Linked DNA regions of Homo sapiens: all the other regions are linked to region 5. The links are contacts of gene promoters, found by promoter capture Hi-C in blood cells and fetal thymus (Javierre and others, 2016). All regions are on one chromosome and are shown on one strand. The core of a region is centred on a gene start or on the middle of the fragment in contact, and the rest is flanking DNA. Distances in the headings are between cores, read along the strand shown. Region 1 overlaps SLC35B3 (solute carrier family 35 member B3). Region 2 has its middle 6.0 kb from the start of BMP6. Region 3 overlaps LOC105374906 (a long non-coding RNA gene). Region 4 overlaps LOC100506207 (a long non-coding RNA gene). Region 5 holds the start of BLOC1S5 (biogenesis of lysosomal organelles complex 1 subunit 5).

What was found. Contacts are between HindIII fragments. The CHiCAGO score rates a contact against its expected background, and 5 or more counts as called.
Region 1: a fragment that was not itself captured here is called in contact with the fragment with the promoter of BLOC1S5 in region 5 in 1 of 17 cell types (naive CD8 T cells); the score reaches 5.1 in naive CD8 T cells.
Region 2: a contact is called between a fragment that was not itself captured here and the fragment with the promoter of BLOC1S5 in region 5, in 16 of 17 cell types (M2 macrophages, megakaryocytes, naive B cells and 13 more). The highest score is 19.9, in M2 macrophages.
Region 3: a fragment that was not itself captured here is called in contact with the fragment with the promoter of BLOC1S5 in region 5 in 4 of 17 cell types (M2 macrophages, M1 macrophages, megakaryocytes and 1 more); the score reaches 6.8 in M2 macrophages.
Region 4: a fragment that was not itself captured here is called in contact with the fragment with the promoter of BLOC1S5 in region 5 in 6 of 17 cell types (non-activated CD4 T cells, total CD8 T cells, naive CD8 T cells and 3 more); the score reaches 10.9 in non-activated CD4 T cells.

What each region holds. Positions count from the first base shown.
Region 1 is chr6:8,416,097-8,420,081 of GRCh38, reverse strand. SLC35B3 (solute carrier family 35 member B3) reads left to right here. Exons shown (of 10, transcript NM_001370479.2): 6 at 405-502; 7 at 2,588-2,680; 8 at 3,087-3,198. Among named protein-coding and RNA genes, the nearest start is that of SLC35B3, 17 kb to the left of the region's middle. The HindIII fragment of the contact is 1,924 bases long and covers 339-2,262 here.
Region 2 is chr6:7,717,823-7,722,385 of GRCh38, reverse strand. No RefSeq gene overlaps it. Among named protein-coding and RNA genes, the nearest start is that of BMP6, 6.0 kb to the left of the region's middle. The HindIII fragment of the contact is 3,394 bases long and covers 649-4,042 here.
Region 3 is chr6:7,698,697-7,702,677 of GRCh38, reverse strand. LOC105374906 (a long non-coding RNA gene) reads right to left here. Exons shown (of 4, transcript XR_926437.4): 4 at 2,696-3,981. Among named protein-coding and RNA genes, the nearest start is that of BMP6, 25 kb to the left of the region's middle. The HindIII fragment of the contact is 2,569 bases long and covers 62-2,630 here.
Region 4 is chr6:8,439,558-8,443,696 of GRCh38, reverse strand. The region is part of intron 2 of LOC100506207 (a long non-coding RNA gene); the gene reads right to left. Among named protein-coding and RNA genes, the nearest start is that of SLC35B3, 6.1 kb to the right of the region's middle. The HindIII fragment of the contact is 154 bases long and covers 1,351-1,504 here.
Region 5 is chr6:8,062,719-8,067,201 of GRCh38, reverse strand. It overlaps BLOC1S5 (biogenesis of lysosomal organelles complex 1 subunit 5), which reads left to right and starts at 2,813. Exons shown (of 5, transcript NM_201280.3): 1 at 2,813-2,937. The coding sequence starts at 2,826. BLOC1S5-TXNDC5 (BLOC1S5-TXNDC5 readthrough (NMD candidate)) reads left to right here and starts at 2,788. Exons shown (of 13, transcript NR_037616.1): 1 at 2,788-2,937. The region is part of intron 3 of EEF1E1-BLOC1S5 (EEF1E1-BLOC1S5 readthrough (NMD candidate)); the gene reads left to right. RefSeq lists enhancers at 1,230-1,379, 1,390-1,489, 3,180-3,369, 2,979-3,605. The HindIII fragment of the contact is 8,031 bases long and covers 1,696-4,483 here.

The sequences.
Region 1 (3,985 bases), core at 51-2,550, 350 kb before region 5:
CAAAAATGACTTTTCTCTTCATCTGTTTTTTTTTTTTTTAATTAACTGAATAGCCACCAATCCCAATAGATAGATATCCTAAGAGTTTCTTCTACACTTTCAGAACTAGTGGAACTATTAGACTAGTAGAATATTTATGGAACTGTTATTTAATACGCTATTGAAATGTGAAATGTGATATGTACAGAACTAACTCAGTTTATTAGTATATCTTTTTTAATATCATCACATATGTACTTGTTACAACCGATTGTGAATAAGAATATTCTGGATTACCGAACAAATGTAGTTGAAGATCTGCTTTTGTTTTTTAGACCAATGAAATTTCTGATAAAGCTTGATTATAGTTCATATGTTTAAATAAGGAGGGTTTTTTTGTTTGTTTTTTTAATACCTTCTTGAAGGTGTGGTGCTTATTTCCCTGGCACTATGTGCAGATGCCGTCATTGGAAATGTTCAAGAGAAAGCTATGAAACTTCATAATGCTTCTAATTCTGAAATGGTAAATACTCTAGTGTTTTTTCTTCAAATTAGACAGATTTAAAAAATGGTGATACACGTAATTTGATGAAATAATTATTATAACTAGCATTGCATTTTTAAACTCATTTTTACAAAAGTAATACATTCAAACATTATAGGAAGGTAAAAACTAAAACTACAACTAGCAGTGCTAACCGCTTGTTGCATAGTTGACAAATTTTTTCCTCATTGATTTAGTTTTTTATGTATTAAAATAAAATCTTTTGTTATATCCTTTCTCTCATCTCTTTCTAGTGGGTAGTATTTTTCCATGTAGAAGTTTGTAATTTTTATATGGCCCAATTTGTCTTTTCCTTGCTGGCTTCTGGCTAAGTATCATGGTTGAAAAGAGCTTTCCTAACCCTGAGATTTAGAACATTTCATCCCTGTTGCCTACTAGTTTTGTGATTTCCTTTTTTATTAAGCCCTTGATCCAATCTAAAACTTTTTTAAAAGAACTTTTCTTTCAAATGACTACCATTTTTTCTAATATCATTTATTGAATAATCCACTTTCAGCTCATTTTAAATGCCCTCTTTATCATATCACACTCTTGTGTGGCATTCAGAATTGTATTTGAATTTATTTTTGCAATAGTACATATAATGACAGCAGCTTTATCAGACATTTATTATCTGTTAGGACTAGCTACCATTGTTCCTTTTCTTTTGCAGAATATTACTACCAGTAGTTATTCTGGGGTGTTTATATTCCCAAATAAACTAAAAATCCCATTGGTATTGTGATTGGTATGGCATTGAATTATAAATTAATTTAGGGAGAATGGCATCTTGATTATTTCAGTCCAAGAATAAGGTATGACTTTTCTTTTACTCAAGTGGTCTTTTTTTCAATGTCCATTAGAGTTTAAAGTTTTCTTCATGTAAATCCAGCACATTTCTTATTAAAGGTATTGTTAATAATAACTTATTAAAGTTATTTCATCTTTTTGTGGTTATTGCAAATAATATCTTTCTGTATCTCTTGTAACTGTTTTTTTTTTTTGCAAGTAGTGTCTTTTTGTATATCTTGTAACTGGTTTTTATATAGGAAAATTATGTGTGTGTATGTGTGTGTGTGTGTGTGTGTTTACATTAATTTTATAACCAACCACCTTGCTGGACAGAAAGAGCATACTGAATTAAGGATAGACAGGACTATTCTTTCCTGTTATTTTCTTGACACAGAATGGGGCAACTTAGGTAGTCTCTAATAACACAGGAACTTGGTTAAGAATTTTCTTCATCATAATCACTACTCATTGTAGATAAGGTAAGGATGGGCACAGAGAGAATTGAGGGAGTGTAGGTTGTTAGAAAGTTAATATAATGCAGTGTTTATGATGGTAGGCTCTGGAATAAGATAGCTCAGTTCATATCCTGGCTTTACTAGCACTCATTTGGGGAAAATTACTTAATATCTCTAAGTTATAGTTTCTTCATCTGGAAATTGGATTATGATAACTAAGAATACCCATATCTAGGGTGGTTGTGAGAAGTAAATGGAATAATCCGTACCGAGCTTCAACACAGTACCTGACACACAGCAGATATTTAGGTTTGCTGCTGCTGCTGCTGCTGCTGATTCTGTTTATGAAAAGCATAGTAAATTGGGATTAAAAGGTTGGTTGGAAAATAGAGAAGTTAAGCAGTAGATATGCCATATGCTGCTTATTTTCATTATATTTTAATGTATTTTAGAAACTTAATTTTTTTATGTTTTATAAGTATCTTTAAAGCTTTTTGTTTTGTTTCATTTATTTTTTTTAGAACTCTAATATGAAAATCTGGTTGATTTCAATAATTAAGCCTAGAAAGAAATGAATATGTAAGCATATATGAAAGGATTAATATTACTAGGTGTTATTTTGTACATAAAATGAGGCATAGACTTATAAAACATTAGAATCAAATAACATTTCTGGAAATTTAGGCCATATTGAAATTATAATGTTTCTTTTAAAATGTTTGTTCTGCAAACCTAATTGAGCCATAGAGTTAAAACCCTTAATCTTCCATTTTCAGTTTCATAGTACTTTTTTCTGCTTTATTTTTATCTGCTCTAGGTATTGTATTCGTATTCAATTGGTTTTGTATACATTTTACTGGGATTGACATGCACTAGTGGATTAGGCCCTGCAGTAACATTTTGTGCAAAGGTAAACACTAATCACATTTAAAAAAAAAAATCTTCTGTTAAATAATTTTCTCTAAATTTCTCATTTCCCTTGTTCAAAAGAGGCTATCATAGATATAATGATACCTCCTTTAACATAACATGCCAATCGGAAATTAATTTCAGAAATGAAATGACTGATATTTAAATTTATTTTATCCTTGCTGTACCCTATGAGTTGATTTTTAAGCTGTTCATAATGTAGGAAAGTTGAGGATCTTTAATTTCAACATTTTTTTTTCATTAAATCAAAATAAGAATCTTTGCTTGACTGCATTGTCAAACAACTTATTGCTCAAGAAGTTGATTAACATCTGTAGTTTTATTTTATTTGTAATACCTCGGAGTTTGTTTTACATTTTTCTAACAGGCTTTTTTATTTTTTGCAGAATCCAGTTCGGACCTATGGTTATGCGTTCCTTTTTTCCCTCACTGGATATTTTGGAATCTCCTTTGTTCTGGCTTTGATTAAAATTTTTGGTGCACTTATTGCTGTAACAGGTAGGAGGGATTTACTTGCTTTGATTATAAAATAAGCATTTACATTTTCTCTGATGCTCTTTTTCAAAACATAAGGGCAACATCTCCTTTATATTAAAAAGAAAATTATCATATTTCACCAATTTATTCTTTGGCTTATGGTGTTTCTTTAGAATTCTAAAGAAAATGTTGTTTGATCTTAATTTCTTATTTTGATGGTTTAATTTTAAAATCAAACATATACATTTATCAGAACAGTAACCCTTAAACGCATTAAAAGAACTTTCTATAAAATTATGATGAGATGACGACCTCCAAAGAAAGTACTGCCTTTATATGCTTTTAACCTGTAACTGAAACTTTCAGTTTTGTTGCATTTCAAGTATGAGAGGTACACTTTAAATAAGCTTTTTAGGCCTTTCATTTGTACATTTTCTAGGACATCAACCAGATTAGCTTCCCTTTTCACCAATAAGCACTATGCACCTGCTGTGTGCAGGGTCTTTGCTTGGCCCTGTAGAAAAATCAGTTGTATTTGTTCTGCTTTGGAGGAGTGTATAGCCTAGTGAGGGGAACAGATGAGTCAATGTGCCACCTGTGTCATCTGCCAAAACTCTAAGGCACAGCTTTTGCCTTAGAGGTACAGGCAGGAGTTTTCCTCTCTCACGTAAAAGAAAGCCAGAGCTGGCAATAATCATAGCTAATGCATACATAGCCCTAGTATGTACCAGACACCATTATTTTAATCTCACAGCAGTCCTATAAATTAGGCACTATGATTATTCCATTTTACAGATGGATAAACTGA
Region 2 (4,563 bases), core at 1,096-3,595, 340 kb after region 5:
TGGGAGGATCGCTTGAGCCAGGGAGGTGGAGGTTACAGTGAGCCCAGATCACCAGATCACACCACTGCACTCCAGCCTGGGTGACAGCAAGACCCTGTCTCAAAAAAAAAAAAAAAAAATCTTGTAAACTGTGTAGCTGTCATGTTTAAAAGACTGAGGTCTAGCCTCCTTGAATTATTGAGACGTTCCACTCCAAAGACCAACTTTTTATCTTTACTATTAGCATAAGGACCTGAGTACTTCTTAATGTTAATTTCAAAGTATAATAATTCGATCAAATTTTTAAAATATCGATTTAGAGTTGAGTGAAAAGAAAATAGATAAATGGTTGTAAAGTATGAGAAATGAAAATTTGCAAGTGAAATAAGTATTGCTTCTGAAAGCTACACCTGTAAGACAGCCTTCAAAAGACCTGTCTCATCCAAAAGTCTGTGGTAACATTTACATTCAGTCACACTCCGCTTTCACTGTCTACTCAAAAATGCTGGGCATTCACACTTCAAAATATCATTCAAGTCATCATATTTTCCTACTCATGAAGGACATCTGGTGGCAAAGTGAAAAACTAATACATAAATCTGTTTCCAGAGATTTTTTTCCACACCATAACCCAAATAGCAAATCTGTTACTTGTACGTGTTTCAAGCTTTTCACACAAGCTCAGATCTCTATGACCCTAGGATTTAGGCTGTCTACATAATATTAAGCAACAGAATATTTCGAGACATCCAGATGATTAAATCGTTTGTGAAATTTTCATTGAGTAATTAACATGTGCAGACTAAGTCTTCAATTTTTTTTCTGAGCAAAACAATGCTTAACACATTTCCATGACTAGTTTTACTATCCCTGAAGAGTTTTATTCCAAGAAATGATTGGACACTTAGTTAACTGGGGTGCATGAGGCTCCCTGGCCTGTGCTGGCCTCTGAGCTTCAGTCCATTTTGTGACCCCACTCTGTACCTCCTGTCCAGGATGTGTCTCTGTGTCACTAGGAGGTAACATAAAAATATGACATTATCCTGTTAGTAATCCCCTTAACTAGCAAAGCCGTAACCAGTGGCATGTGGAGCCAGGGAAAAGCACACTGGTGGTAAAATCAGGTTAAAATGAAAGTCACTGACAGCTTTTTAAAAAGAAGAGAAAGGCTAATTACCCAGTCTTCATTCATTCATTCAACACATCTTTCCATGCCTATGTGCCAGGCAGTGGTCTAGGTTTTGGGATACCAAACAGAAATCCCTGTCCACATAGATTCTAGATGGGGAAATGGATAGTAAACAAAATAACTAGGAATGTATACTGTGGTAGGCAGGATGTTGGCCCTCATGATTTTTGCCCCTGGTTTTGAAGGGGAAGAGGCCACAGGCCAGGGAATACAGGCAACCTCTGGAAGCCAGCAAGAAAATAGCAACCCCCGTCTTAATTCTGAATTCTTTCAACAACCTGAATAAGCCTAGAAGCAGATTCTTACTTAGAGCCTCCAGATAAGAGCCAGGGCAGGTGACATCTTGATGTCAGCCTGGTGAGACCCAGAACGAAGAAGGGAGCCTAGCCTACTGGTCTTCCAATCTGTGGGACCCTGAGACAATGAACTTGTGTTGTTTTAAGCCACTAAATGTGTGATATTTTGTTTTGACAACAATGGGAAACTAACACATATATAGTAGGGTGGTAAGTGCTGCGGAGAAAATTCAAACAGGGGAGGGGGCTAGGGAGTGTGTGGATGGTCAGGTAAGGCATCACCTCCTGACAGAGAAGACAGCACTTGAGCAGAGACCTGACAGAGTCTGTGGAGCCAGCCATGGGGATACCTTCAGACAGAGCTCTCTAGGCAGTAGAAATGGTAAGTGCAAAGGCCCTGTGGCAGGGGCATGCCTGGTGAGTTTGAGAAGAACAAGAAGGCCAATGAGGCTAGAACAGAGGACATGAGAGGGAATAACAGTAGGAAATTGGATCAGAAAGCCAAGGGAGGGTGGGAATTGGGGCCAAGGTGCTATAGAGTTCTGGACGCCAGACACCTTGGAGGAGATTTGGGCTTTTAAAAAAGCGTGAGATGGCACAACATGGAAAAATCTCACAAACATAACAGTGAGGAAAAGAAGCCAGATAAGAAACAACACATACTGTAATTCTATTTCCACAAAATTCAAAAACAGGCTTACCTAATCTAGAAGACAGCGTAGTGGTTCCCTTTGGAGAGACAAGTGGGAGTATTGATTGAATGACAGCACGTGGGGTTTCCCAACAGTTGGTCTATTTCCTTACCTGGGTGGTGGTTATACAGGTGTAGTCAATTTTAATCATTTCATGAGTGCTACACAGAGGCTCTGTACGCTTTCTGTACGTATGTTACTTTGCAATAAAAACTTTGGTTTAAAAAAATAAGTATGAGAACAACAACAAACAAGTGTGAGATGGGAGGGCTGTTAGATGGTTTCGAGCGAGAAGTGACAGGAGCCAACTTAAATTTTAAGAGTCTCTCAGGTCACTGTGTTGAGAACAGACTATGGAGTTGCCAGGGCAGAATCAGGGACACTAGTCAGGAAACCGTTTATGCTCAGACAAAAAATGATAACGGCTCGTAGGGGACCTCATATGGAAATAGTGAAGGTACAGAAAAGTAGTTGGATTCTGGACACATTTGAAGGCAAACCCCGATGATAAGAGGATGTGCATGTTGCATGGAAAAACAAGCCATGCAACAACTTCTCCTTCTGTAGAGGTCCCTCCCACTGCACAAAGCCTGGGGTAGTAGTGTGAATTTACTATGGCTGAGGAAGATCGTGTTCATGCACTAATGACTGTGGGTTAATATGCTGACCATGCCAAAAAGTGGCTTGGAGGAGCTTTGGCATCAGCACCCACACTACAAAAAACCACTCATAATACTCATAATAAACAGAGGGCTTGCCGGGAAAGAACAGCTTCAAGACAAGTCCCCTAATAGCCTTCCCACAAGATTCCCTCTGTAGTAACATAATAGCTCCATCTCTGAACATAAAATTTCTTCCAAGATATGAAGTTTAGCCATTAAGTATTCATTTTCTATTTTTTTTTTTTTTTTTTTTTTGAGACGGAGTCTCGCTCTGTCGCCCAGGCTGGAGTGCAGTAGTGCGATCTCGGCTCGCTGCAACCTCCGCCTCCTGGATTCATACCATTCTTCTGCCTCAGCCTCTCAAGTAGCTGGGACTACAGGTGCCCGCCACCACACCCGGCTAATTTTTTGTATTTTTAGTAGAGATGGGGTTTCACCATGTTAGCCAGGATAGTTAAGTATTCATTTTCAAAGGACTCCTATAAATGTGGTATCCTGGATGAGTTATTGAAGGAAAAATAAGAACTTTAAGAAAAAGCTAATCAAATTGAAATAAAGTATGGAGTTTACTTAGTAATGCTATATTAATGTTGATTCATTAATTATGATGTAAAATGTCATGTTATAATAATAGGAGACACTGGGTGTAAGATATACAGGAACTCTCTGTACTATCTTTGCAATTTCTCTGTAGATTTAAAATTATGCTAAAATTAAAGCTAATTTTTTAAAAAAACATTCTTGTAGCTTTAATCTTAAGATGTAATAATTCAAGCTCAGTTACCTCCTTTGCTGTAGAAAGTAATACATGCTTGGGCCAGGCACGGTGGCTCACACCTGTAATACCAGCACTTTGGGAGGCCAAGGCAGGCAGATCACCTGAGGTCAGGAATTCAAGACCGGCCTGGCCAACATGGTGAAACCCTGTCTCTACTAAAATTACAAAAATTAGCCGGGTGTGGTGGTGGGCATCTGTAATCCCGCTACTTGGGAGGCTGAGGCAGGAGAATTGCTGAAACCTGGAAGGCGGAGGTTGCAGTGAGCTGAGATCACAGCATTGCACTCCAGCCTGGGTAACACAAGTGAGATTCTGTCTCAAAAAAAAAAAAGTAATACATGCCTTTATTCCAATTAGATTAGTAATGACAAAATTATATCGCTAAGTTTTTACTCAGGATTGAATTTATTAATCTATATTAAATCAATTATTACTAAAGCCAAGCTTCTTAGCTCCCAATTTACTGTTTCCTTACACATTGTCTCAAGCCACTTAGTGTTGAGTTTTTCCATAATTCATTTTTAACTCAAAATTATGGGATTACCTAAAGATGTTAAATTTCATGTCAACTTTTCTCGCCTTCCTGTAAGTTACTTGCACGTTGTTTTTAGGATTCCACTTTGATTGACTGATTGATAGCATTTTTTAGTTATCTTTTTGTATAGCTTTCATACTGGTTGCTCAGGTTACTAAAATATGCATTTGTGACTTATCACAGTCTATTGGTATCAACATATTTCTACATATTTCTACCTCAGTTGAGGTTCAATTCACTTAGTTCCCTTTACTTTCCCACTATTGAATATTATTATCTCATTGTCTTGCATATAAGATGGTGTTATATTTTTGCTTCAATCATCAAATATGATTTTTTTTTTTTTGAGACAGGGTCTCTCTCTGTCGCTCAGGCTGGAGTGAAGTGGCATGCTCATGGCTCACTGCAGCCTCGACCTCCCAGGCTCAAGCT
Region 3 (3,981 bases), core at 97-2,596, 360 kb after region 5:
CCTGCTTCAACCAAAGAGGGGAGCATTTGGAAGTCAGATTATTTCTAGTCTTCTGTAAGCTTTAAAGGGTATCAGCTGTTTCTTTCAAAAACTATGTTTTATACATGTTAGTATGCCTAACATTACATTTCTTCTAAAATAAGGTATTGATTTAGATGTGCTTTTTAAAAAATAACTTACTAATTCAGAAAGATTATCCTTCAACACTATATATTCATTCCTTTATAAAGCTGACAAAGTCACTCAATAGACCAGCATAATAGTTTATTTTTGCTGACATTTTTCCTGTTTTACACGACCATGGGTATATAAGCCCTACCACCATCTCCATGTATCCTCTTGATGTCTAAAACATGCTTTGTAACTGTTAAATATGTGATTAAACTGTCAAAAGTATATGGAGGCAGCTGCATAAATTTTGAAACCAAAGTCAAAGTTCTATTTGTTCTATGACTGTGTGAGTGTTGCAAACTTTACAGCATTATGGAAAGTTAAAAACCCCACCCCAACATCTTTTTTTAAAACTTATGCTATAATAATTTCTTCCAAAAACTAGTCACTTATTAACGTGTTCTGTTTCTAAGATGAAATGATATATGATATACATATTTTTAAAACATTTTATTGAAGTATAATATATATTCAGAAAACTACATAGGTAGTAATGCACAATTTGATAAACTTTCACAAACTGAACACACATATGTAACCAGAACCTAGATCAAGAAACATGACCAGCCCCTCACACCCAGTTCCAGCAATTCCGGGAACCCATCCCAAGAACAGCCACCATCCTGACTTGTAACAGTCTAAATTGGTTTTGCCCATTGTTAGGGTTTGGATTTTCATCCCTGCCCAAATCTCATGTTGAGCTGAAATCCCCAGTGTTGGAGGAGGGGCCTCGTGGGAGATGACTGGATCAAAGGGGCAGATTTCCCAATTTGCTCTTCTCGTGACAGTGAGTTCTCAGAAGATCTGGTGGTTTAAAAGTGGGTAGCACCTCCCACTTCACTCTCTTCCTCCTTCTCTGTCCATATAAGATAAGCCTGCTTCCCCTTCACCGTCCACCATGATTGTAAGTTTCCTGAGGCCTCCTCAGCCATGCTTCCTGTACAGCCTACAAAACTGTGAGCCAATTAAACCTTTTTTCTTTATAAATTATCCAGGTTCAGGTATCTCCTTATAGCCATGTGAGAACAGACTAATACACCCATTTTTGCATTTCATATGAATGGAATCCCACCATATGCTGATTTATGTCTGTTTTGTTCAATACTATATTTTATACATCGAAATAATACGTTAACCTCCAATGCTAACCTCTACAGCACTGTAATTTTTATTTTATTACAACACAATATTTCAATGTGTTCCAGGAACACAAGAATATTCATTATTATAGATAACATTTCAGTGTTTATTTGTTTATAGAAAATCAGTAAATAAAACTTCAGTTTATTAACATGTGTTTCAAAGTTCACTGCTTTGCCAAATTGAATTTTGGCAATTTAAAAAATAATCTAAAAATCATTATACACATAAAGATATAGGAAAGATTTTATTTTTCTTGAAATAGGTACAACTTCAATTTGTTCTAATATTCTGAACATTTCTCTATATTCTCAGTGTTTTCTCTCATGACATTTTGTGATCTAAATGATTTTAAGATTTATAAACCAAATTCTTTGGAACAGTCAATTCTTTAGATCAATTTGTTCTCCAAAGCAGGTTATGACGTGATTCAAATGACATACTAAACCTGGAAGTGAATCCCACTTTTGCCACAAATTAGCTGTGTAACTTTAGGTAAGTTCCTTAACCTTTCTGTGCTACCTTCTGCATCCATAAATAAGATGGTTTCTGCAGGTTCTCCGAGCTCAAAACATTCTAGTTCAAAAATATTTTCAAGTAAGAATTTGCCAAAAACAAGAGAATCAGGAAACAAAAGGTTTCAGGAAACAAAAGGAAACAAAAGTTCCATCAGTTTACTTTAAAAAGGAATAGCTGCTACCATGTGCTGAACTGGTTCCTGGACCAATCCACAGTGAGACACTCATTCAGTAGACCATCTTCCATTTTCCCTGTACAGTAAATGCTTGAAGGTAGCTCCCAAGAATGTTATACACTTTCCTTATGGAGGTGTATAAAATTCCCTGTCACACCCAAAGGGTATCGTAGAAATGTATTTCCTTTTGGGCAACATCTTTGTTATTGAAAGAAAACCTCCAAAATGGTGTTTCCACTTTTTTTTTTTTTTTTTTTTTTTTTGAGATGGATTCTCGCTCTGTCACCCAGGCTGGAGTGCAATGGCATGATCTCAGCTCACTGCCATCTTCGACTCCCAGGTTCAAGTGATTCTTCTGCCTCAGCCTGCTGAGTAGCTGGGATTACAGGTGCGTGCCACCATGCCCAGCTAATTTTTGTATTTTTGGTAGAGATGGGTTTTCACCACGTTGGCCAGGCTGATCTTGAACTCCTGACCTCAGGTGATCCACCAGCCTCAGCCTCCCAAAGTGCTGTGATTACAGGCGTGAGCCACTGTGCCCAGCCTGTTTCCACATTTTAAACTTACCTTTAAGTACTCAAATGAAGAGCTGTGTCTATGAATGGCATTTTCTATATGGCAAGCTTAAGCAATGGGTATAACTATGGGACACAAAAACTTATAATCCAAAAGACCACCAGGATGACTAAATAGTAGAAAGAAGAGCTTTATTGGTGATATCAGTTGCAAGCTGGAAGAGAAAGTCTCCAGCATGGACCAAAGATGCTCTCTCTTCAAACAGGGGAAGGACAGGTTGGGTCTCATTCCTCTGAGAGTCTGTATTACACAATAGAGTCATACGTATTCAGCAGGTTTGGGGTAGAAGCTATACATATTTATGAGGAGAGCCAAGCACAGGAGCAATGAATAAACAAACATGTAATATACATCCCATATTCACTTTGGGGCAAAAGGTGAACTATAGGACACAAAGACAGTGTGTGTGCAGCCTCTATAAGCTGGCTGAAACTGGCTTAAGGTCTGCAATTGCTCATCAGAAAAGAATGTTTGTAAGGCCTGTCCTCTGTCCAATCAGAATAGTAGTGGTCTGGATTGCAAATTGGAGTTAGGATAATTTGCCCAATAGCTCCTATTGTTAGGGAGTTTAGCAAGAGTGTGGATTTTCTTACAGGAATTTAGAAATTCGCAAGGCCAGCTGGGCCCTAAGCTCTCAATCCATAGGTAAAATTTTTTTTTCTTTTTTTTTTTTTTTGAGACGGAGTCTTGCTCCATCACACAGGCTGGAGTGCACTGGCATGATCTCAGCTCACTGCAACCTCCGCCTCCTAGGTACAAGCAATTCTCCTGCCTCAGCCTCCTGAGTAGCTGGGACTGCAGGTGTGTGCCTCCGTACCCAGCTAATTTTGTATTTTTAGTAGAGACGGGGTTTCACCATGTTGGCCAGGATTGTGTTGAACTCCTGACCTCGTGATCCACCCACCTCTGCCTCCCAAAGTGCTGGGATTACAGGCGTGAGCCACCTCACCTGGCCAACTTTTTGTTTCGTTAACCTTAAGGTCCTTCTTCATTGATAAAGTAATGTCTACTTTGGTCTCCCAGATCACAATCTCAATCTATTTTCCCAAAGAGAAAATTAATCAGGTAAAACAGTTGATTAATGATTAGCAAATAACAACAAAAAACACCTTAATACTTTAGTCCTTAGAATCCTTAAGTCTAATCATAATGCTTAAAAAAACAGCACTTCATATTGACGATAATGTAGTTCTTCAGGTAATAAAAAAAATTTAAAAAATAAAAGCACTTCATAGATAAGGGACAAATATTATTTTTTTTCATCTCCCTTTCTTATGTTCCCACAAATGGGAAAACTGGGGTTATCTTCAAGTTTACATGGTAATTTAAAAAATGAAAGCAAAAATCTAAAGGATGTTGATAAATATGCTAATATATTGCCTGCTGAAGTCCATGCCTGT
Region 4 (4,139 bases), core at 178-2,677, 380 kb before region 5:
TGCCTATTAAGCCTCCACCCCTAAACTCTTCATGTGTGTCTGTGTCCTAAGTTTTCCTGGTGCAAGACTACGAACCCCAGGTATATACCCCAGACAACATAGCCGCTTCAAAAGGAATGCAGCACTGTTGACCATTTGATTACATCCCAGTGAGGCTCATTATGTTTGTATGTAATGTATGTATGTATGTATTTAGTAGAGATGTTACTCTACTCTACTCTCTATGCTACTCAGGCTGATCTCAAACTATTGTCCTCAAGCTATCCTCCCACCTCAGCCTCCCAAAGCTCTACGATTATAGGCATGAGCCACTGTACCCACCCAAAACCCACTTTGAAATTCTGTCCTATAGAACTGTAAAATAAAAAAACTGTGTGGTCTTCAAGCCACTAAGCTTGTGGTAATTTGTTATAGCAGCAATAGAAAGCTAATACAGTTACTTATATACACAAGACGGACCAAAGTAAACTAATACAATTAAACATCCCTAATCTGAAAATCTGAAATCTGAAATGCTCCAAAATCCAAAACTTTTGAGCACTGACATAATATCACAAGTGGGAAATTCCACACATAAGTACTTAACACAAACTTCGTTTCATGTACAAAGCTATTAAAAATATTGTTTAAAATTACCTTCAGGCTATGTGTATAAGGTATTTATAAGGCATAAATGAATTTTGTGTTTAGACTTGGGCCCCAGCCTCAAGATATCTTATTATGTATATGCAAATATTCCAAAATTTTTAAAAAATCTAAAATCTGTGAAACACTTCTGGTCCCATACATTTCACATAAGAGATACTCAACCTCTAGAAAGGACGGAGAAAAAGAAATAGTGATAACAAATAATTAGAGTTTTATTGAAAGGAAAAGAAAGGAGGAGGGAAAATACTGATTTGTGAAAGAAACTGAGTTCACACTTAGGATGACTACAGGGTTATATCACTGCATCCAATGTCGCTAACAAGCAGTTTGAAAAATGAGAATAAAGCATAGGTGAGCAGTTAATTACACAGATATAGAGGACAAGTCCGTAATCTTAAATTAAATTGATTTCCTGAAGAGGAGTTTATACAAAAGATCAGGAAAACAGAGACTGAAACATGAACATTTTGAGGACAGGACAAGGAACAGTGAGGTAGGAGAACCAGTCAGTGCAGCAGTACAGAAGTCAAGAAAGAACAAAGTTGCAAAATGCAGCTGGTTCTCAAAAGTTCTAATTGCAGCTGTAGAGAACAGGCCTAATAAATGTTTATTTAGGTTGAACAATTAGTGACATAAACCCTTCAAGACTTCACAGTAGAGGAGTGGAGGAAGTTAAATGCTTATCTTACGTAAAAACAAGCTTTAGCAGTTCCCACCCACTTGCTCCTACATCCCTGGGAGCCATCTTTATTTTTACTCCACACCCACCTGGCCACAGAATTTAGCCTTCTTTAAATTCATCTGAAATAATGCACCTATGCAGGGCATTAATGAACAATGCAGATTTACTGAAGCTTTTTAAGAATATGAAGTGGTGGAATTATAAATCACAGCCTCCATAAAACAACTTAAATACTCCAGTTAGATACAGAACCTATAGTCTCCCAAAAGCTCCCTTCTCAGCCATACCACACTGGTGATTCCCTTTATTCTCTCCCTCCTTCATTTGTTTGTTCTTTCTTTCTTTCCTTCTTTTTTCTTTTTTTTTTTTTTGAGACAGGTCTCACTCTGTCACCCAGGCTGGAGTGCAGTGGTGTGATCTGGGATCACTGCAACCTCCGCCTCCCAAGCTCAAGGGATCCTCCCACCTCAGCCTCCTGAGTAGCTGGGACTATGGGCATGCATCACCACACTCAGCTGATTTTATTTTTGTTTTGTTTGTTTGTTTGTTTTCTAGAGGCAGGGTTTTGCCATGTTACCCAGACTGGTCTTGAACTCCTGGAATCAAGAGATCTGCCTGCCTTGACCTTCCAAAGTACTGGGATTACAGGCAATGTGAGCCACTGCGCCCAGCCTGGATTTTCTCTAGCACTTTAAACTTCATCACCTTCCAAGTGGTGAACAAGAATTAAAGTGCTCTAAAATTCCATTGTCCTGAGTGGTAGATAGTAGTCATATGTGCTACTCTGAGCACTTGAAATGTGGCTGGTCCAAACCAAAATATGCTGGAAGTGTGAAATACACACTGGATTTCCAAGATTTTGTATAAAAAAACAGATGTTAAAGTATTTCATTAACAACTTTTTATATTGATTGCATGTTGAAATGATAATATTTTGGTTATATTGAGTTAAATAAATATATTATTAAAATTAATATCACCTTTTTTTTTTTTTTTTTTGAGACAGAGACTCACTCTGTTGCCCAGGCTGGACTGCAGTGGCATGATCTCAGCTCACTGGAACCTCTGCCTCGCTGGTTCAAGCCATTCTCCTGCCTCAGCCTCCTGAGCAGCTGGGATTACAGGTGCCCGCCACCACGCCCTGTTAATTTTTTTTTATTTTTAGTAGAGATGGGGTTTCACCATGTTGGCCAGGCTGGTCTTGAACTCCTGACCTCAAGTGATTCGCCTGCCTTGGCCTCCCAAAGTGCTGGGATTAGAGGCATGAGCCACCACACCCGGCCTCATTTCACCTTTTTAATGTAACTAGCAGAAAATTTAAAGTAGCTTCCATGGCTTATATTATATTCCTATTGGACAGCACTGTTCTGGAAATAAAAAGAACTTCATGTTAATAAGACTAACCCTCCATGGAAGGCAGTTTAAGAATAATCTTCTAAGAGGCTAATCGAATTACTTCTTACAAAAAGAAAACAAAACACAGAAACTTTGACCAAAAAGGGATTCAAAAGCCAGGTGTTAAACGAGCAAAATATTTCTCCATCTCATTACACATGCTACCTCTTTATGAAGAATTTTGCCCCATGCCAATTATCAGTACTGGGAAAGAAGAGGAGTCATGGCTGGTGTCCAGGTGGCCCAGTTCTGTGAACCTCTATCCATTTAGGAGACAGCAGAGAAAAACTGATAGCCCTGGAAGTCAAGCAACCTACAGGGGAACTGAATCTATAACCACAGCCTCATTAGCATAGCCTATAGCTCCCATTGCATCCTGTAGTTAATACCCTTATCAACACAAATCACACTATAATTACTTGTGTAATTAATTATCTCCACCACACAAGGCTGTGAGCTTTGTGAGGGCAGGGATCCATGTCTGTCTTGTCATCCACATATCCACAATACCCAGTAGCATGCAGAGTAAGTGCTCAATAAGTATTTATTAAATGGATATTTAATGAAAATCAAATTAACTAGTTTTTCTGCTCAGTGCATCTGGAACCATATATCTATCAATGAACTTCCTAGTTTGGAAATGCTATATAACCTATTCCTTATGGAAGAGCTAGAAAAGTGACAACTGATGACTATATATAAATGGATTATTCTAATGATAGTAGGCTATATTAATAAGAATATTAATAGCTAACTTTTACTAAGTGTTTGTCAGGTAATAGGTGTTGTGCTAACCATTTAACCATCTTTAAACATCTTTCACTTACTCATCACTACAATTTACCACATAGGTACTACTGTCATTCCCATTTCACAGATGGGGAGATTGAGACTTAGAGAATTTAAGCAATTTGCACAAAGACACTCAAAGAGCAAGGGGTGGTGCAAGGATTTAAATTTAATCTGACACTAGAACCTGAGACTTAACTATGCAAGATGATTCTTCACAGACACATGACTAAGTAACACCAATTGACACGAACTGACATTGTTGATCACTCCTTCCTCCTTTAAACATTGTCTTCACCTGGCTTTTAGAAGACTGTACATTCCTGGACCCATCCTATGTCAACAGCTGCTTCTTCTAAGTCTCCACTGCTGGTTTCTCTTTCTCGCTCCCCCAAGTCACATGACTTGATTATCTAGGACATCCTAAAATACATAAAAACACCTCCCAAAAATTGCTCCTAGGAAATGGAAGGCATTTATCCATAGGTGCCCATTCCCCATTGGTGGATCATTGCCTGGGGGTGTTAATGCCACCAAACTTCCCAAGGGCCAGGTGTGTGTGTGTGTGTGTGTGTGTGTGTGTGTGTGTGTGTGTGTCAGGAGTGACGGCATCTCAACCCTATCT
Region 5 (4,483 bases), core at 1,564-4,063:
ATGATATTGATTCTCCAATCTTGTATAGAGGTTATGATGTGAGTACAGCTATTCTTAAAAACATAAAGGTACTTAATGTATGATTTCATTTCTATAATATTTTTGAGGTGAAAAAGTTTTTAGAAATAGAGGACAGATGATAGGTTGCCAGAAGTCAGGGTGGGGACAGGGAGGAAGGTAAATGTGGTTATAAACAGGAACCTTAACGAGATCCTTATGGCATCAGAACTGGTCAGTATGCTGACTGTGATGATAGATGCATAAATCTACATGTAATAAAATTGCATAAACTTAAACATATACACACACAATGAATACAAGGAAAACTGGTGAAATCTGAATAACATTGGTGGATTGTATCAATGTCAATATCCTGGTTGTAACATTAGCATTTGCAAAATGTTACCACTGGGGGAAACTAGGCAAAGTGTAAAAGGAAACTCTATTATTTCTTACAACTGCATGAGAAGCTACAAATACCTCAATAAAAATTTCATTTAAAAATACAGGGAAAGTCTTGTCAATCCAGAGACAATAAGAGACAATACAAGACCTTCAGGGAAAGGATAAGAGTCCCATTTTAGCCTCAAAACTCTTGAGATTTCATGGGTCAAAGACCAAGGACACACTCATAGCAGCTGAATGTGCCAGGCGAAATGGCACTGCCAATGTTGCTTCTCAGTCTCCTAGCTGTCTGAGCCGCAGTGTAAAGATTTATATAAAAGCGGAGAGAGAACAGAGGCATATGCTGGACCTCACCATCCCAGAGAACAATACAACTTAATAGTGTATAATCAAATGGCTAGAACACATATTCACAGGCTACAAGCAACAGACTTGCAGAAAAGTAATTGTGTACTTATTCAGTGTTGGCTCCCCTGCAGGCTGCATGAGGAAAGGAAAAGGCTGCATTAGTCTTGTTCACCACTGTGTCTTAGCTCCTAGCACTATGCTGGGCACGTAGCAGCTGCTCAATAACGTATTTGTTAAATGTTTTTGAATGAAAAAATGAAAAGCCCATGTGGCCTGTTAAAGTTAATATGGCTTCTCTCTCCCTTCTCTCCAAATCTCCCTTCCCCACTCTCTCTTCACCCACCACCTATGCTTAAACACATACACAGAGACACAGAGGCAGTTGTTTCTGCCACATACAAGTCAGGCAGTCATTTAACCTCTCTGTGCCTCAGCCTCCTCGTCTGTAAATGAGGACATTAATAATAACTACTTCAAAGGCCGGCCATGAGGATTAAATGAATGCAAATTTGTAGACCACTTACAGTATTACCTGGCATGTAGCAAGTGCCATGTAAGTGTTTGTTAAACTGCAGTGCTATCCGAAGTTAGCACAGACTTCAGAGGTCAAAGCATGGTCCTCCTCAAGACTCCCCTTCAGACACCTGCCACAAGCTTTGGGGTTCCCAGGCCACCTGCACTTCTGACCAGCTGTCTCTGTCATATGCCCAGGGCCTGAGCACTGTCTGCTAGGGTGCCTCAGTTCTCACCCACGCAGCTTCTCTCTACACATGATGTTTCATTGCTATTCGCTTTACTCCCTCAGGTTTCACAGAATGACTCATAGAACTCAAGAAAGTGCTTTCCTTGCTATTACAGTTTTATTATAAAGGACACATATCAGGACCAGCCAAATGAAGAGATGTATAGGGCGAGATGTGGGAGATTTCCCAAATAGAAGCTTACGTGTCCTCAGGAACGCTTCCCCCTCCTGACACTTTGATGAATGATTATCGACCAGTAAGCTCACCTGAGCTTCCACATCCAGAGTACTCACTGGGGTTCCATTATGTAGGCATAGTTGGTTAAATCACTGGCCACATGGCTGAACTCAGTCTCCAGCCCCAATCTGCTCCCCAGAGGTGGGCCTGCTTATGTGACTCAAAGCCTAAGCCCTCATGGTTGGCCGGCCCTTCTGGTGTGGCCAGCCTCCATTCTGAAATCATCTTGGGCCCTCCATGAGCCATCTCATTAGCATAAACTCAGGTGTATTTCCAGAGGCCCACCATGAATAACAAAGACACTTCTATCACTTGGGAAATTCTAAGGATTGAGGGTACCTCCCAGGAACCAGAGTCAAAGTCCAGTCAAATTCTTTATTATACAACGTGAGTTTACTGACTTGAACAGAAAGAGGGAGCAAGAGAAGCATTCTAGGAAACAGGTGTCTAAAAAGAAAGGCAGGAATAGTCAGCCACACTCATGGCATAGTAGGGAAACAGCCCCCAGCTAATTGGCTTTGCTATACAGTAGTCCCCCCTTATCTGAGGTTTCACTTTCTGTGGTTTCATTACCCGCAGGACGGTACAATAAGATATTTTGGGAGAGAGACTACATTCACATAACTTTTATTAAATTGTTCTAATTGTTCATCTCTTACTGTGCCTAATTTATAAACTTTATCATATGTATATACAGGAAAAAACATAGTATATACATGGTTCAGTACTATATGCAGTTTCAGGAATCTACTGGGGGTCTTGGAATGTATTCTCAGCAGATATGGGAGGACAACTGTACTGGAATGCACCAGCTTTGAGCCAAATAACCAGGGCTCTGAGTTTAGCTCCAAAGTTCAAGCACCTTCCTATTCTAGCAGCATCCGCCCTGATCCAGCATGGCGGCAAGAGCTTCTGCCAGTTCACAGCCTGACTACACGGCAGGCGCCTTTCCGGAACCGCCCGCTGGGTAGATTAAATTTCTCCGGCGCCCTGTAATGACACACACACAAAAAAAACCCGGGCGCGCCTTGTAAGAGGGCGGCCGGGTTTGCGCAGGCGCAGCGTGGCCGCGGGTGGGCGGAACTGGTCGGGATGAGTGGCGGAGGGACAGAGACCCCTGTGGGTTGTGAGGCCGCCCCGGGCGGTGGCAGCAAGAAGAGGGACTCCCTGGGGACTGCGGGCTCAGCGCACCTCATTATCAAGGGTACGGAGTGTCAGGGCTATAGTTCCTGGTGGATCCCAGCACAGCCTCATCTCCCAGGCGGCGCCCTCTGACCCGGGCCGACCCCCGGGTCCCGGGCTGGCGCGCGTGCGTTTGTGCGGGTGGGGGAGTCGTGGTCGGTCCCCGCCTTTTTCCCCGCGCCAAATGCGTCCCACCACAACCAACCAGCCCAACTCTTCGTGTTTCCCCGCTTTCCTCTGTCGCAGCCTGAGCCATCAGGCCCGCCCCCGTCCATTCCGCAAGCTCAGGACCCCTGGGCGCAGAGCCTTTGGGCAGCCTCGCCACCGACGTGTAGTGGAAAGGGCATTGGACCTGGGAGGCGGGAGGCAGTCGCTTAGGAGTTGAGTGACTTCGGGTCACTGGCTTTACTCACTCTCCTACCCGATCTGTTCCTGGTCGTGCGAGGAGTAAGTGAGATACACTTACGAAGGCGCTCTATAGCACTGTAAAGAACCATTCACGTTCAGAAATGTCCATGTGTTCTGTGTGCTTTGAGCTGGGAGAAGGTTACAACCTAGATTCTCACAGAATCTGCTTTAGGTTTGACTCCTAAAGCTCACAACGCTGTTTGCTGCGTGAAAGTCTTTGACAGTTGAGTTGTAGTGCTTTATATATACCAGATATAAAGTGCTTATATACAGTGCTTGTATTATTTTTTCTACTTGACATGCTTAAGAAGATATGTACTAATAAAATTCATTAAAATAGAGAATTGAAACCTGCCCATCGTATGTCTGCAAAAATGAAAAATTTGGGGAACATTGCCAGTGAATGAATATGAATAATACATTGTCTTAGATTTAATTTCTCAAGGAATTTTGAGACTTACATTTTAAACTACATAGTTGTAACTAAGAAGAATAATAAACTGACTCACCAAAAGACTTAAATTCAGACCTTTTCTTAATGACTTTTTCAGACTTATGAAAAAGAGACTTACAATGAACATTCACCACCCACCTTAATAAATAAATTACTAAAAGCCCCACTGTGTCTTGCTCTAATTGCACTAGTTCCCCTCCCTCGTCTCAAGGTAGCCACTATCCAGAATTTGGTGTTTATTATTCTTGTGCATTTCTTTATAGTTTTGTTGCTTCTGTCTATATCCCAAAAGGAAATATTTTGAATATTTTAAAGTTTTATGTAAATTGCTTTAATCCTTCTGAAACTTGCTTTTTTATTATATTTATTATAAAATACGTATTATTTTTTATATTTATGTTGATAAGTGTAACTCTGATGTATTTATTTTTACTTGGTGATTGATAGAATTCCATTGTATGAGTATGGTTAAGGTGTTTTGCGTTTTTTCTTTTGATATTACACCTATGCTGTAATAAATATGTATAAATGGCCTTACTCATTTGTGCAAGAGTTTTCCAGGGTACATACCTAGGCATGAAAATGCTAGGTATACATGTCTGCAACTTTATTGAATACTGAAAGATTGTTCTCAAAAGTAGTTGTATCAGTGTACACATCCACTGGCAGTGGATGAGATTTCTTCTTAGTCCATAGTCTAAACTGG